Regions from separate parts of the Homo sapiens genome. Here regions 1, 2 and 4 are each linked to region 3. Evidence: promoter capture Hi-C in human tissues and cell types (Jung and others, 2019). All regions are on one chromosome and are shown on one strand. The core of a region is centred on a gene start or on the middle of the fragment in contact, and the rest is flanking DNA. Distances in the headings are between cores, read along the strand shown. Region 1 holds the start of IL17C (interleukin 17C). Region 2 overlaps ZC3H18 (zinc finger CCCH-type containing 18). Region 3 holds the start of PIEZO1 (piezo type mechanosensitive ion channel component 1 (Er blood group)). Region 4 overlaps ZC3H18 (zinc finger CCCH-type containing 18).

Evidence for each region. The method cuts DNA at HindIII sites, captures the fragments that hold promoters and counts their contacts. A contact is called where the count stands out against the background at its distance.
Region 1: a contact is called between the fragment with the promoter of IL17C here and the fragment with the promoter of PIEZO1 in region 3, in 5 of the 25 tissues and cell types used here (liver, lymphoblastoid cells, mesenchymal stem cells and 2 more).
Region 2: a fragment that was not itself captured here is called in contact with the fragment with the promoter of PIEZO1 in region 3 in 3 of the 25 tissues and cell types used here (lymphoblastoid cells, spleen and thymus).
Region 4: a fragment that was not itself captured here is called in contact with the fragment with the promoter of PIEZO1 in region 3 in 1 of the 25 tissues and cell types used here (lymphoblastoid cells).

The regions. Positions count from the first base shown.
Region 1 is chr16:88,636,909-88,640,301 of GRCh38, forward strand. It overlaps IL17C (interleukin 17C), which reads left to right and starts at 1,664. Exons shown (of 3, transcript NM_013278.4): 1 at 1,664-1,739; 2 at 2,073-2,401; 3 at 2,906-3,393. The coding sequence starts at 1,734. The coding sequence ends at 3,164. It overlaps LOC124903755 (a long non-coding RNA gene), which reads left to right. Exons shown (of 2, transcript XR_007065181.1): 2 at 1-526. The HindIII fragment of the contact is 16,303 bases long and covers 1-3,393 here.
Region 2 is chr16:88,618,212-88,621,743 of GRCh38, forward strand. All of the region lies in intron 8 of ZC3H18 (zinc finger CCCH-type containing 18), which reads left to right. Among named protein-coding and RNA genes, the nearest start is that of IL17C, 19 kb to the right of the region's middle. The HindIII fragment of the contact is 5,227 bases long and covers 1-3,532 here.
Region 3 is chr16:88,783,162-88,786,495 of GRCh38, forward strand. It overlaps PIEZO1 (piezo type mechanosensitive ion channel component 1 (Er blood group)), which reads right to left and starts at 2,059. Exons shown (of 51, transcript NM_001142864.4): 1 at 1,740-2,059. The coding sequence starts at 1,803. RefSeq lists silencers at 888-1,207, 1,708-2,187, 2,228-2,557 and an enhancer at 1,290-2,203. The HindIII fragment of the contact is 3,328 bases long and covers 1-2,252 here.
Region 4 is chr16:88,588,326-88,591,751 of GRCh38, forward strand. The region is part of intron 3 of ZC3H18 (zinc finger CCCH-type containing 18); the gene reads left to right. Among named protein-coding and RNA genes, the nearest start is that of ZC3H18, 20 kb to the left of the region's middle. RefSeq lists enhancers at 1,196-1,490, 3,386-3,426. The HindIII fragment of the contact is 7,017 bases long and covers 1-3,426 here.

The DNA.
Region 1 (3,393 bases), core at 414-2,913, 150 kb before region 3:
GCTGCCTCAGCCCCACCCGACTTGGGAGCTTTTGTGTTCAGAGAGACTGAGGTTTTCAGCTTAGAGGACACCTCCGTGGAACACATCTGCACCGCGGCAGGGGAGGAAAGGCTGGGGGCACACAAGCACCCTCCCTCCCGCCCTCACCCCGAAGCTGAGGGGACCAGGGCGGACAGATTCCCCCACCTCTGATGTGGCCAGGGGCCCTGGGGACTCCAGGACAACCCTCCTCAGGATGACGTCAAACCCCCGGCATTCAAACCTTCCCAAGTTCTGGCTGCAGCTGTCCCTTTCCGGGGAAACAAAGGCACCTCCAGCGCCCCCACCCCCAGCCAGCCTCACCGATCAAGGAGGCCAAAGGCAGCTCCCGGCCCCGCTTACATAAAGCTTCCTGTGTGTGCTGGTCACACCTCACACCTCACGCCTCACGCCTCATGCCTCATTCACACCTCACACCTCACTCCTCACACCTCCAACTCAGACTTTTTAGCTTGAACTTTTTTCTCAATAAAACCACAGAAGCCCAGGCCGGGTGCAGTGACTCATGCCTGTGATCCCAGCACTTTGCGAGGCCGAGGTGGGCAGATCACGAGGTCAGGAGATCGAGACCATCCTGGCTAACATGGTGAAACCCCGTCTCTACTAAAAATACAAAAAAATTAGCCAGGTGTGGTGGCGGGCGCCTGTAGTCCCAGCTACCCGGCAGGCTGAGGCAGGAGAATGGCGTGAACCCAGGAAGCTGAGCTTGTAGTGAGCCGAGATCGCACCACTGTACTCCCCGCCTGGGCGACAGAGTCAGACTCCGCCTCAAAAAAACAACAAAAAAAAAAACAACACAGAAACCCAACAGAGACCTGAAGACGTGCCTGCCTCCCCCATCTCCGGGACCTCTCCCACCTGGGTGAAGGGGGCACGTGAGCCTCACCTGATCTTGACCATCTCAGCTAAAACACTGAACCACCCTTGGCACCCACCAGCAGCAGACGGAGAAGAACTGTATAGGGTGCAAAAGCGCCCCGCCACCATCAGGTCCAGATGAAAACCTACAAGTTGAATCAGCAAGGTGCTGACGGATACGCAAGCAGAAACCCTCTTATAGGAGGTTCAAGGCTGGGCGCAGTGGCTCACTCCTGTAATCCCAGCACTTTGGGAGGCCAAGGCGAGCAGATCACTTGAGGTCAGGAGCCTCAGACCAGCCTGGCCGATATGGCAAAACCCTGTCTGTACTAAAAATACAAAAATTAGCCAGGCATGGTGGGGGGTGCCTGTAATCCCAGCTACTCGGAAGCCTGAGGCAGGAGAATCGCTTGAACCTGGGATGTGGAGGTTGCAGTGAGCTGGGACAGCACCATTTCCCTCCAGCTCGGGTGACAGCAAGACCCTGTCTCAAAAAAAAAAAAAAAGTTTGAGAATGTCAGACAAGGCAGCACCCTGTGTAGGTGCTCAGGTTGGGCGGAGTCTCTCTCGGGGGAGGGGGGTAACAGGACAGCGCCTCCCGGGGCCTCCTTGCATGTCTGTGTCCTGATGCACAGCAGGCGGGGGCTGCGGGGACCAGAGAAGGAAGAAGCGCCCCAGCTGGGCACTTCCCGAGGAGGAAGTGGTGCCGGAATTTCCCCCAGGTGTGGCCTCAGGTATAAGAGCGGCTGCTGCCAGGTGCATGGCCAGGTGCACCTGTGGGATTGCCGCCAGGTGTGCAGGCCGCTCCAAGCCCAGCCTGCCCCGCTGCCGCCACCATGACGGTGAGCCTCTCCACATGCCGCTCGGATGGATGCTGCTTGGATGTGCAGCCTGGCATGGAAGGGCTGGGGTTCTCTGAGCCTGGGAGGAGGGTGTTGGGATGGGGTCTGGGAAACCCCTCAGTCTGGGGGTAGGGGAGGCAGCTGCAGATCCTCGGAGCGCTGGCATGCTGGGTGTCTTGGGCTGAAGGGCTAGCCTCTCTGGGCTTCAGTTTCCCCATCTATAGAGGGAGGGCTGTACTCCATCTTTCCGCTGGGAACAAGGAAAGCTGAGGTGGAAGTGAGGTGCCCCCTGCCCTGGGCACCTCCTAACCACCCACCTGCCTGTTTCACCAGCTCCTCCCCGGCCTCCTGTTTCTGACCTGGCTGCACACATGCCTGGCCCACCATGACCCCTCCCTCAGGGGGCACCCCCACAGTCACGGTACCCCACACTGCTACTCGGCTGAGGAACTGCCCCTCGGCCAGGCCCCCCCACACCTGCTGGCTCGAGGTGCCAAGTGGGGGCAGGCTTTGCCTGTAGCCCTGGTGTCCAGCCTGGAGGCAGCAAGCCACAGGGGGAGGCACGAGAGGCCCTCAGCTACGACCCAGTGCCCGGTGCTGCGGCCGGAGGAGGTGTTGGAGGCAGACACCCACCAGCGCTCCATCTCACCCTGGAGATACCGGTGAGGACCTGGGGATTCCGCTGTGGCGTGGGGCTGCCCCTCCCCTGGCGGGGCCCTGACTGCCCGGAGAGCTCTCTGGGCCTTGGTGGTTCTCACCTGTCAAGTGGGCGTGGCCACCTGAGCTCCCTCCCTCCGGCCCTCCTGACCTGGACGGCTGAGCTGCTGCTTGCGGCTGGCCGTGCCCTGCCTCCCACTGTCCTAGGTGGCCAGGGTCCCCTGGGGAAATTCTGGGCCCGTCACCTGAGCTCCTGCAGAAGTGGGGCTGGGTGATGAAGTGGAAGGGAGGCTCCTAGAGGCCTCCGGACCCTGCTCTGTGCTCTTGGAGGGCCCTGGGGAGACGTGGATTACCACCACATGTGAGCCCGACTGCACCCCAAGCCCGTGTGGCTCAGCCCTCGCTGCCTCAGGTCCTATCCTGAGTACACGGAGAGGGGCCCTGAGGGGAGAGGGGCCTCCAGGAGGACAGGGTAGGGCCAGAGACTCACTGTGCACCCCGTCCCGCAGTGTGGACACGGATGAGGACCGCTATCCACAGAAGCTGGCCTTCGCCGAGTGCCTGTGCAGAGGCTGTATCGATGCACGGACGGGCCGCGAGACAGCTGCGCTCAACTCCGTGCGGCTGCTCCAGAGCCTGCTGGTGCTGCGCCGCCGGCCCTGCTCCCGCGACGGCTCGGGGCTCCCCACACCTGGGGCCTTTGCCTTCCACACCGAGTTCATCCACGTCCCCGTCGGCTGCACCTGCGTGCTGCCCCGTTCAGTGTGACCGCCGAGGCCGTGGGGCCCCTAGACTGGACACGTGTGCTCCCCAGAGGGCACCCCCTATTTATGTGTATTTATTGTTATTTATATGCCTCCCCCAACACTACCCTTGGGGTCTGGGCATTCCCCGTGTCTGGAGGACAGCCCCCCACTGTTCTCCTCATCTCCAGCCTCAGTAGTTGGGGGTAGAAGGAGCTCAGCACCTCTTCCAGCCCTTAAAGCTGCAGAAAAGG
Region 2 (3,532 bases), core at 800-3,299, 160 kb before region 3:
AGACATGGGGCGGGCACTCCAGGTCTGCTTTGGGCTTTTTCTGTTACGTTTTAAGGGAGGTGGGGAGAGCATGTGGCCCGTAGCTAAATGCTCCACAGGCACTCACAGAACAAGCCAGGAGAGAAGCTTTGCTGTGGAGGTGCTCCCAGAGCTGCCTCTGAGCAGGCTCAGCCCGGGGAGGCCCATAGGCTCCCATCTCCCTTTTCCCTTGTTGATGTAGATGCTTAGCTCTTTTGATTGAAGAAAGAACCTTCATGCGTTTTTATCCTTTTTCACCTTTGACCCCAAACTTGACAGCTGCTGGGGTTGGAGTTTCTGGACACGTGGCCTGTAGCAGCCTGGCATCTGTGGCGCCTCGTGTGGCTGCTGGCATCGGTGAGGCATGAGCTATGAGTGTGCCAGCCTCGGGCCCTTGGTTTTGTCTGCCTCTGGCATGTTTGCATTGGTGGTGGAGCTGACCTTTGCCCCTTAGAGAGTCTCCTGTGGCCTTCAACGGGGAATGGGGGCCAGATGATAGCGCGGGCCTTGTGCTGCGGGAAAGGCTACTTCCTCAGTCAGAGGTCATCTGGAGGGTTCTCCCCTGCGGTTGGAAGTGTTCATGCAAATTCCAGATCTGTCCTGGCCCAGCTTGGAGGTGGGCCTTCCTGACTGGGCCATCCCTTGCGAGCGTTCTCAGCCCACACTGGCTCCCTCTGCGCAGGCCCCTACTTGTGAAGGAGCTGAGCCGCACTCGGTGGGCTGTCCTGGGGCACCCATGTTGTGTGTTTTGGTTTTGTTTATTTTGTATCTGCCTGGTTTTTCCAAGTCTAATCAGGATGTCCCCTGGGGTGACATTCTTTGCTGAGAGAAGGGCACATGCCTCGGTTCCCTGGGCTGTAGAAAGCCAGTGCTCAGCCTTGCTTTCTGCCGCAGACTTGGTGCCCGGAGACTCGCTATCAAAGTGCAGTGGAGATAATGTCCAATGGGAGGCTGAGGCAGGAGAATGGCATGAGGCAGAGCTTGCAGTGAGCCAAGATCGCACCACCGTACTCCAGCCTGGGCAACAGAGCGAGGCTCTGTCTCAAAAAAAAGAAAAAAGGAAAAAAATGGTTATCTGCATCCTGGTTAAAATCAGTACCACCACGTCCCACACGTGGTAACATGGACTTGCTGGATAGGACCTCCTTGCTCCATGGGCCTGGAAGCAGCTGCTTCAGAAGGAAGGTGGTGCGGCCGGCGGCAGCGGAGGGCGCGCTGTGCAGTGACGAGATGGTGCAGGCCCGTCCACAGCCCTGGCCCAGAGAAGGAGAGACCTCACTGACCCCTGCTGGGCCTGCCTCTGGCCATCTTCATTTTGAAATTCGGTATCATTGTCTCCAGAGGGAATGAGCAGCTCTTTCTGGGGGGCAAGCACCAGCTGCCCTGAGATTGTGGAGGCCTGCACTGCCCGCCTCTCTGGACCTCAGCTGGTTTTATTTCCATGCCGTGGCAGGGGGCAAGCAGACGCTGTTTTTCCTTCCCCCTCACCGCAGCTAGGACTCCACATGCTGTTACAGCTTCACCCGAAGAAGAGGTGGTCCTGACCACGCCTTGACTTCTGCCCGTTCCCTCTCCCTGTGTTGGAAGGGCCGCGCTGTCCCTGTGACTTATTGGTGCTCCCTTTCCTCTTGGGGTGTTAGGATGAGAGTTATACAGGAAGTATAAAGGTGAAAGTAGCTCTCTAGTAGCCTGTGACAGGGAGGATCATCAGACAGGTGTTTACTTCCTTCCTGGATTACTTTTCCAGGAGACACCCAGATGTGGCAATAGCTCTTGGGGTTTTGGGCTGACGTACAGGAGCTGAAGCTGTGATGTCGCGTGTCCGTGTCCTTAGGACAGTGTTAAGTGGGGAGCTGCCCCCATCCTGCATTCTCAGCAGATAGCAGGCATGTTTGCCAGCCGGTTGGTTAAACAAGCTCTGAAAACATAAACATTGATGGTTTTGGTGGTTTCATGTGTTGTCGTGTGACGTAAGCAGATGCTACCACAGCAGAGCCAGAGGTGAGCAAGACGTAGGGCAGAGAATCCCACTCACAGTAACACAGGAACTAAAACAGCTTTTTAAAATGTGTTTGCAGGCCAGGCATGGCGGCTCAAGCTTATAACCCCAGCACTCTGGGAGGCCAGGGTGGGAGGATCACTTGAGGCCAGAAATTCGAGACCAGCCTGGGCAACATAGGGAGACCTCAAATCAATGTTTAATGACCTGGGTGTGGTGGTGCACACCTGCAGTCCTGGCTACTCAAGAGGCTGAGGTGGGAGGATCCCTTCAGCCTGGAAGCTCAAGGCTGCAGTGATTATGCCACCACACTCCAGCCCACATGGGTAACAGAGCAAGACCCTGTCTCTAAAAAAGAAAAAAAAAAAAAAAGCCACGTTCTGCTTATACAATTGCCAGGATTTTGGGTTAGTTTGTGTCTGGGTGGTGGTTGTGGTTCTTAGTGGTGACACCGAGCCCAGGTTCGGCACCGCACACTGCTGGCTGAATGAGGAAAAAATATCTGATAACCCACCAAGAACCTGTAAAATGTGTATCTCCTTTGACCCATTAATTCCATTGCTCAGGAGTTTACCCTTTAAAAAGTCAGATAAAGATTTATATATAAGGGGTCAGTTTAATATCATTTGTGTTTGGGTTTTTTTGTTTGTTTTTTATAATGGAGTCTCACTCTGTTGCCCAGTTTGGAGTGCAGTGGCGCAGTCTCAGCTCACTGCAATCTCTGCCTCCTGGGTTCAAACCATTCTCCTGCCCTCAGGCTCCCCAGTAGCTGGGATTACAGGCACGTGTTACCACACCCAGCTAATTTTTTTGTTTTTTGTTTTGTTTTGTTTTGAGACGAAGTCTTGCTCTGTCGCCCAGATTGGAGGGCAGTGGCGCAGTCTCAGCTCACTACAACCTCCGCCTCCCAGTTTCAAGCAATTCTCCTGCCTCAGCTTCCCAAGTAGCTGGGATTACAGGCGCCCGCCACCACATCCAACTAATTTTTGTTTTTGTTTTTATTTTTTTTTTTTTGAGACAGAGTCTCGCTCTGTCGCCCAGGCTGGAGTGCAATGGCGCGATCTCGGCTCACTGCAAGCTCCACCTCCCGGGTTCACGCCATTCTTCTGCCTCAGCCCCCCAAGTAGCTGGGACTACAGGCGCCTGCCACCACGCCTGGCTAATTTTATATATTTTTAGTAGAGATGGGGTTTCACCATGTTAGCCAGGATGGTCTCGATCTCTTGACCTCGTGATTCGCCCGCCTCGGCCTCCCAAAGTGCTGGGATTACAGGTGAGCCACCGCAGCCGGCCTAATTTTTGTATTCTTAGTAGACATGGAGTTTCACCATGTTGGCCAGGCTGGTCTCGAACTCCTGACCTCATGATCCGCCCACCTCAGCCTCCCAAAGTGCTGGGATTACAGGCATGAGCCATCGCGCCCAGCCTAATTTTTGTATTTTTAATAGAGACAGGTTTCACCATATTGGCCAGGCTGATCTGGAACTCCCGACCTCAAGTAATCCACCCGCCTCG
Region 3 (3,334 bases), core at 809-3,308:
ACAGTGATCCCTCCCCCAGATCCCCCACGCGGATAGCAATCGAGAAGGCAGAACCCAGGCCCCCTGACCAATGCCCAGGGGGCAGCAAACCACATGTGCCACAGAATCGGGCTCAACACCTGTTTAGGTACAGCCCATGAACTCAGGAGGGCTTTTACATTTAATGGCTGGAAAAATACCAGAAGAAGAAGATTTTGTGACATGAAAATATTTACCATCTGGTCATTTAAAGAAAAACATTGCCAACTCTGCCCAAGGAGCAGCTGCCATCTGAGAGGGGGGGCATTCCCTGCAGGGAGGACACCCGCTCCCACTCAGACACAAGAGGAAATGGAACGATCAGTGTGAACGGGACGTTTCAGAAGCTTTCCTGTTTCCCTCTCTAAGGCCTGTCAGCTCTAGACTCTGCCTCTGTGCCAGGCTGTCCTGCTTGTTTTCAAGGCACAGGAAGGAACACAGCCGGGCCCTGTTTACGGCCCATCTGACCCTGCACTGGGAGCAGGTCCCAGGCTGCCCAGTCCACACAGGGCTGACCGCACTGAAGAGAGTTGCTCAAAACCTCTCCTCTCCAGCCTCAATGGTTTTCATTGATTCCTGTCTAGAAAATCTTCCCCAAGTTTCACCACCTTTCTGTGCGACCGATCAAAACGCAGTCTGTCTGGGAGCCTCAGGCAGGCGGCTCTAGATCCCCAAAGCTAGCGCTGGGCGAGCTCCCACCTGGAGCGAGGCAAGGGCTCCGAAAGGGCTTTTACAATCAAAAGGCCCCACCTGCCGTGTCCATGGCGGACTCCCAATGCAAACCGTCCCACTTGTCCGTGGGTTAATTCCATCCGACTGCTTCCCAGATCAATCACACGTGGGGAGCCCCCGGGCGGAGGGCGCGGACCCTGGGTCCCGGCTAGGCCAGGGTCGGGGAAGGGTAGGGGTGCCAGGCCGTGCAGCACCAAGCCACCCGGGTGTGCTTCGCGAAAGGGGCACCACTGCCCGGCAAGCAGGGAACACAGATGCCAGGACTGGGGACCCCTGCCCCGCCCTGACACCAGGCCACAGCCTCCGGGGGTGTCCCCTCCCCCAGACCAGGGCAGAGGCCGGCCCCCGCCCCTGCGAAACTGAGCCCAGTAGGGCAAGGGAGGACCAGGGAGGAACCCACACTATTTTTTTCCAAAGTGTGGGACCGCCTCAGTCCGGCAGAGGGGGGTGCAGCGGTGAGCGGGGCTGGGCCCTGGGCACGGACGTTCGTTGGGCTCGGGAAGCTCCAAATTAAACAGCTCCAGGCAGGAAGCCCGCCTTCTCCCAGATTGTCAGGAAGTCCTGATGCAACTTTGCGCTTTTTTTTTTAAACCCGAAAGAGAAAAAGAGATTCGTGCTCCCCCCACCACCGCCGCGGCCCTTCCCACCGGGGCAAACACCGCCTCGCCCGGCGGCCTCCTCTCCGCAGCGCCCCGGCGGAGACGCCAGCCGCGCTATGCCCGGCGCTCGCTCGACCGCCCCCGTGGGCACGCGGTGCCGTCTCCCCCAGCCGCCGCCGCCCTTCCAGCCCGGCCCTGGGACAGGAGCCCCGCCGCCGCCTGGCGCGCTCATGCTTCAGGAATGCGGGCGCCCGGGTCGCGCGTCCCTGGGAATTTCCGCGCCCGCTCGCCCGCAGCCCTCGCCCCGGCCGGCGTCGTCCGGTGTCCAGGCCGTGGGGAGCCGAGACGCAGCCCCCTCCCGTCGCCCCCAGGCGCCCGCCCCCCACTCACCAGCCAGCAGCGCGCAGGGCAGCAGCAGCCAGTACAGGACCGCGCCGAGCACGTGCGGCTCCATGGCTGGAGGGCCCAGGGCCCGGCCCAGACCGAGCGGACGCCGCGGCGCTATGGGGCGGTGCGGGGGCCCCGGGGCCGGCGCGCCATGGCTGACCCGCGGGGACCCGCGCGCCGCCTTCTCCTCTTCCTCCTTCTCCTTCGGCCGCCCCGCCGGTGCCGACGTCCCGGGCCCGCGCTCGCTCAGGCGACCGCCCTGCCCCTCGGCGGAGCGCAGCGCTCGGCTCACTGGGGCCGAGCTGGGCCGGACGGCGGCTCCCGCCCTCCTCCGCCCGCGGGCCTTTATAAGCTCGGCCCCCTCCCGCCCTCCCCGGCGTGCCCGCCTCCGCGCTTCCCCGACGGCCCGGCGCGCCCAGGCACCCCCTCCGCTGTCCCGCGCGGCCCGTCCCGCCTCCGGCCCGCCCTGGTGCGTTGGGGCCTGGAGACCCCCGACTGGCGCTGGCCCGGAGCGGACCCCTCCCCTCCCGCAGTCTTGGCCCCGCGGCTCCGAGCGTGCGCGGCGGTGGGCAGGGGCGCTTCTCGCTGGGTGGGCTGCGGCTGGGGCCCGGGCGCTACATAAGGGGTCCCGGGGCCTCTGGCTCCCCCAGGCAGCGCCCCACGCGCAACTGCACCCCGCGTGCCCGAGCGACTTTCGCTTTGCTCCCCGAGGCGCGAGCACGCAGCGCCCCCTGGGGACCGTGGGGAGGCTCGGAGTTCCCGCGGCGGCCGGGCCTAGTGGTCCCGGAGGGAGCACGCGGGATGCTCGGGTCGCAGCAGTGCCGCGATCCGCGTTGGTCTGACGGGGGCTCGGGGGCTGCTCCCAGCCACGCCGGCCACCGCGCGCGGCTTTGCCCGGGTCGCTCTGGCGTGAGACGGTGAGAGTGAGAGCCACGGCCTGTGCACCTGCTGCCGCGGCGCCCTGCCACGGAGAGGTAGGGTCTGAGTCCAGGGTGTTCGGGACCCTCACCCAGGCCACGTCAGTTTGGCCTTCGTCTGCCCTTGAGATGGGCACAGAAAGAGGGCAAAGGGCTCTACACCGTTTAATTGGGCTCAGTTCATGGCTCTCAAACTCAGCTGCGTAAGGCAGGGAGTGGGGCTGGGGGGACTGTGGCCACTGAGCCTCAAGGCACTGGCAACTCATGAGAGCCCAGCACAAGCCCACACCCTCCAGCTCAAAAAAAAAAAAAAAAAAAAAAGATGGCGGGGCAGTGGCTCAGGCCTGTAATCCCAGCACTTTGCGGGGCTGAGGCAAGGGGGTAGGGGGTCGGGGGATCACTTGACGTCAGGAGTTCGAGACCAGCCTGGCCAACATGGTGAAACCCCGTCTCTACTAAAAATACAAAAATTAGGCCGGGCGCGGTGGCTCACGCCTGTAATCCCAGCACTTTGGGAGGCCGAGGCGGGTGGATCACCAGGTCAGGAGATCGAGACCATCCTGGCTAACACGGTGAAAACCCATCTCTACTAAAAACATAAAAAATTAGCCGGGCGTGGTGGCGGGCTCCTGTAGTCCCAACTACTCGGGAGGCTGAGGCAGGAGAATGGCATCAACCCAG
Region 4 (3,426 bases), core at 788-3,287, 190 kb before region 3:
GACTGGGAAGCTTGACCGGCCAGTCGGCGTTGGCCTGATGGTTCCAACTGCAGGAGGCTGCAGCATCCACCAGGGCAGGGAGACTCTGGACCAGGAGCCCAGGGCTCACTGCTGAGCTAATTCCAGAATTTAACAACAGAAGCACAAAACAGACAGAGAGATGGTTACTGGAACTCTTCATTCCCTTCATTGGGAGATGCCTGGATGAACACAGACAGGATCCTGTCTCCTTGCACATCACGTGGGTTGGTCAGAATTGGAAGGTGGTGCCCCCAAAGTTAGACTAAGTACTGAGTTTGGGTTTCAGCAAGTGAGACCATGTGGAAGGGTTTCTACAGTCAAGAAAGGAGTTTGAGACCAGCCTGGGCAACATAGTGAGACCTTGTCTCTACAAAAAATGAAAACTTAGCAGGGTTTGGTGGCACGCATGTGTAGTCCCAGCTACGTGGGGGGTGGGGGCTGACAGGGGCAGATCACTTGAGCCTGGGAAGTTGAGGCTGCAGTTGTGCCATGATCGTGCCACTGTACTCCAGCCTGGGCGACAGTGAGACTCAGTCTCTTGAAAAAAAAAAAGTCAGAAGCTAGATAAGGCAGCATTTTTGCGGCTTAATCAGGTGTTATCAATAACTCATTTCAGAAGTGTTTTTATTCTGTAGAGTGAGGTGATACGGTACAGAGGAAGTGGCTGATTCTTACCGTTTTCTAGATCATGTCTTCTGCTGCTGCTTTGTTATGAGAAATTTGGACTTAAATGTTTCTGCCTACCTGCAGTTTATATGAAATTGAAATTCTTCAGTTTATGATCTCTCCAATAACAACAAGTTATTTTAAAAACAAAATGAAGTTTGTTGTGTTGGCAAGGATATGGAGATGTTGGAGCCCTCATTCACTGCTCGTGAGAGGGTAAAACGGTGCAGCTGCTTTAGGAAACAGTTCCTCAGAAGCTCCCGGGTACCCACTGTATGACCCAGCAGTTCCACTGCAGGTATGCAGCCAAGAGAAACGGACGTGTGCATTTATGTGAAAGCTTGTGCATTAATGTTCACAGCAGCATAATTTCCAGTAACCAAAGAGAAACAACCCAGGTACCCAAAAAGTGAGGAATGGATAAACAAGTGTGGCCTGTCCATGCAGTGGAATGCTACTTGGCCATAAAGGGAATGAAGCACTGGCTCATGCCACAATGTGGACAAACTTTGAAGACGTGCTGAGTGACAGAAGGGAGCACAGAAGGCCACAGGTCCACAGAGACAGAAAGCAGATTGTGACTCACGCCGCAACGTGGACGAGCCTTGAAGACGTGCTGAGTGACAGAAGGGAGCACGGAAGGCCACAGATCCACAGAGACAGAAAGTAGATTGTGACTCATGCCACAATGTGGACGAGCCTTAAAGACGTGCTGAGTGACAGAAGGGAGCACAGAAGGCCACAGATCCACAGAGACGGAAAGTAGATTGATTCCTCGTTGCCTGGACTGGGGGTGGAGAGTGATAGCTAGTGAGTACAGGATTTCCTCTTTGGGGTGATGGAATGTTCTAGAACTAGCTAGTGGTGATGCTTACACAACTTTGTGAATATACTGCAAACCAGTGAATTGTACACATTAAATGGGAGTATTTTATGTTATGTGAATTGTGTCACAATTAGAAAATTCTTTTCTTAGAAAAAAGTCGGTGGCTGGGCATGGTAGCTCATACCTGGAATCCTAGCACTTTGGGAAGCTGAATGGGGAGGATCACTTGAGCCCAGGAGTTAGAGACCAGCCTGGGCAACATTGCAAGAGCTCATCTTTCTTTTTTAAATTACTTGTAGAGATGGGATCTCACTATATTGCTCAGGCTGGTCTCAAATACTAGGCTCAAGCAATCCTTCCACCTCAGCCTCCCAGAGTATGGGGATGACAGGCATGAGCCACTGCTCAGGCCTCTCTTAGCTTTATCTCCGACACGTTGTGATATAGAGATTAATCATTTAATCGCTTAGTGGACACATTGAGATTTGTGACCAAATGACAGCAAAATGCACTGGGAACACACCTTGCTCACATTTTAGAGATCAGTGCTTTGTGTACGCCTGCCCGGCTCCACAGCACATACACTACAACTGGAGCTGTACTTCTTCATGGGATGTTTTTATCTCTCGTGGGCCTGTGTTGGATCATCAGGACACAAAGTTCTGTCCACAGAGGAGTAAGTAGCATCTTCTTTAAACTGTGTCCCACTTTGGGTTTCTTTATTTCTTTTTTTTTTTTTTTTGAGACAGTGTCTCGCTCTGTCACCCGGGCTGGAGTGCAATGGTGAGATCTCGGCTCGTTGGAACCTCCACCTGGGTTCAAGCTATTCTTCTGTCTCAGACTCCCGAGTAGCTGCGATTACAGGCATCTGCCACCACCCCCAACTCATTTTTGTATTTTTAGCAGACATGGGGTTTCATCATGTTGGCCAGGCTGGTCTCGAACCCCTGACCTCAGGTGATCCGCTCACCTCAGCCTCCCAGAGTGCTGGGATTACAGGTGTGAGCCACCACACCCGGCCCCTACTTTGGGCTTCTGATTTATCCCTCAGTGAACAAGCATCCCAGTCCATTTTTTGGGTCTGATCTCCTTGGCTGTGCTCCCCCTAATTTTTTAAAATTGTGGTGGAATACTTTTTTTTTTTTTTTTTGAGATGGAGTCTTGCTCTGTCACCCAGGCTGGAGTGCAGTGGCACCATCTCGGCTCACTGCAAGCTCTGCCTCCTGGGTTCACGCCATTCTCCTGCCTCAGCCTCCTGAGTAGTTGGAACTACAGGCGCCCGCCACCACGCCCAGGTAATTTTTGTAGTTTTTGGTAGAGACGGAGTTTCACTGTGTTAGCCAGGATGGTCCCGATCTCCTGACCTCGTGATCTGCCCTCCTCGGCCTCCCAAAGTGCTGGGATTACAGGCGTGAGTCACTGCACCTGGCCTTCTGTCTTTTTAAGACTGAATAATAGGTGCGGTGGCTGATGCCTGTAATCATAGCACTTTGGGAGGCCGAGGTGGGTGGATCACTCAAGGTTAGGAGTTCGAGACCAGACTGCTCAACATGGTGAAACCCTGTCTCTACTAAAAATACAAAATTAGCTGGGGGTGGTAGAGCACACCTCTAATTCCAGCTATTTGGGAGGCCAAAGCAGGAGAATCGCTTGAACCCAGTAGGTGGAGGTTGCAGTGAGCCAAGATCACACCACTGCACTCCAGCCTGGGCAACAGAACGAGACTCCGTCTCCAAAAAAAAAAAAAAAGATTGACCAATATTTGTTAGTGTGGAGCAGCTGCATTGGGTGTTTCCCTCATCTGTGGGTGGACACTTGGGTGGTTTCCACCTCTAGGCAATTGTGAATAGAGCTGCTGTGAACGTGGGCGTAAAAATCTCTTCAGACCCTGCTTTCAGCTCTTTCGCATGTGC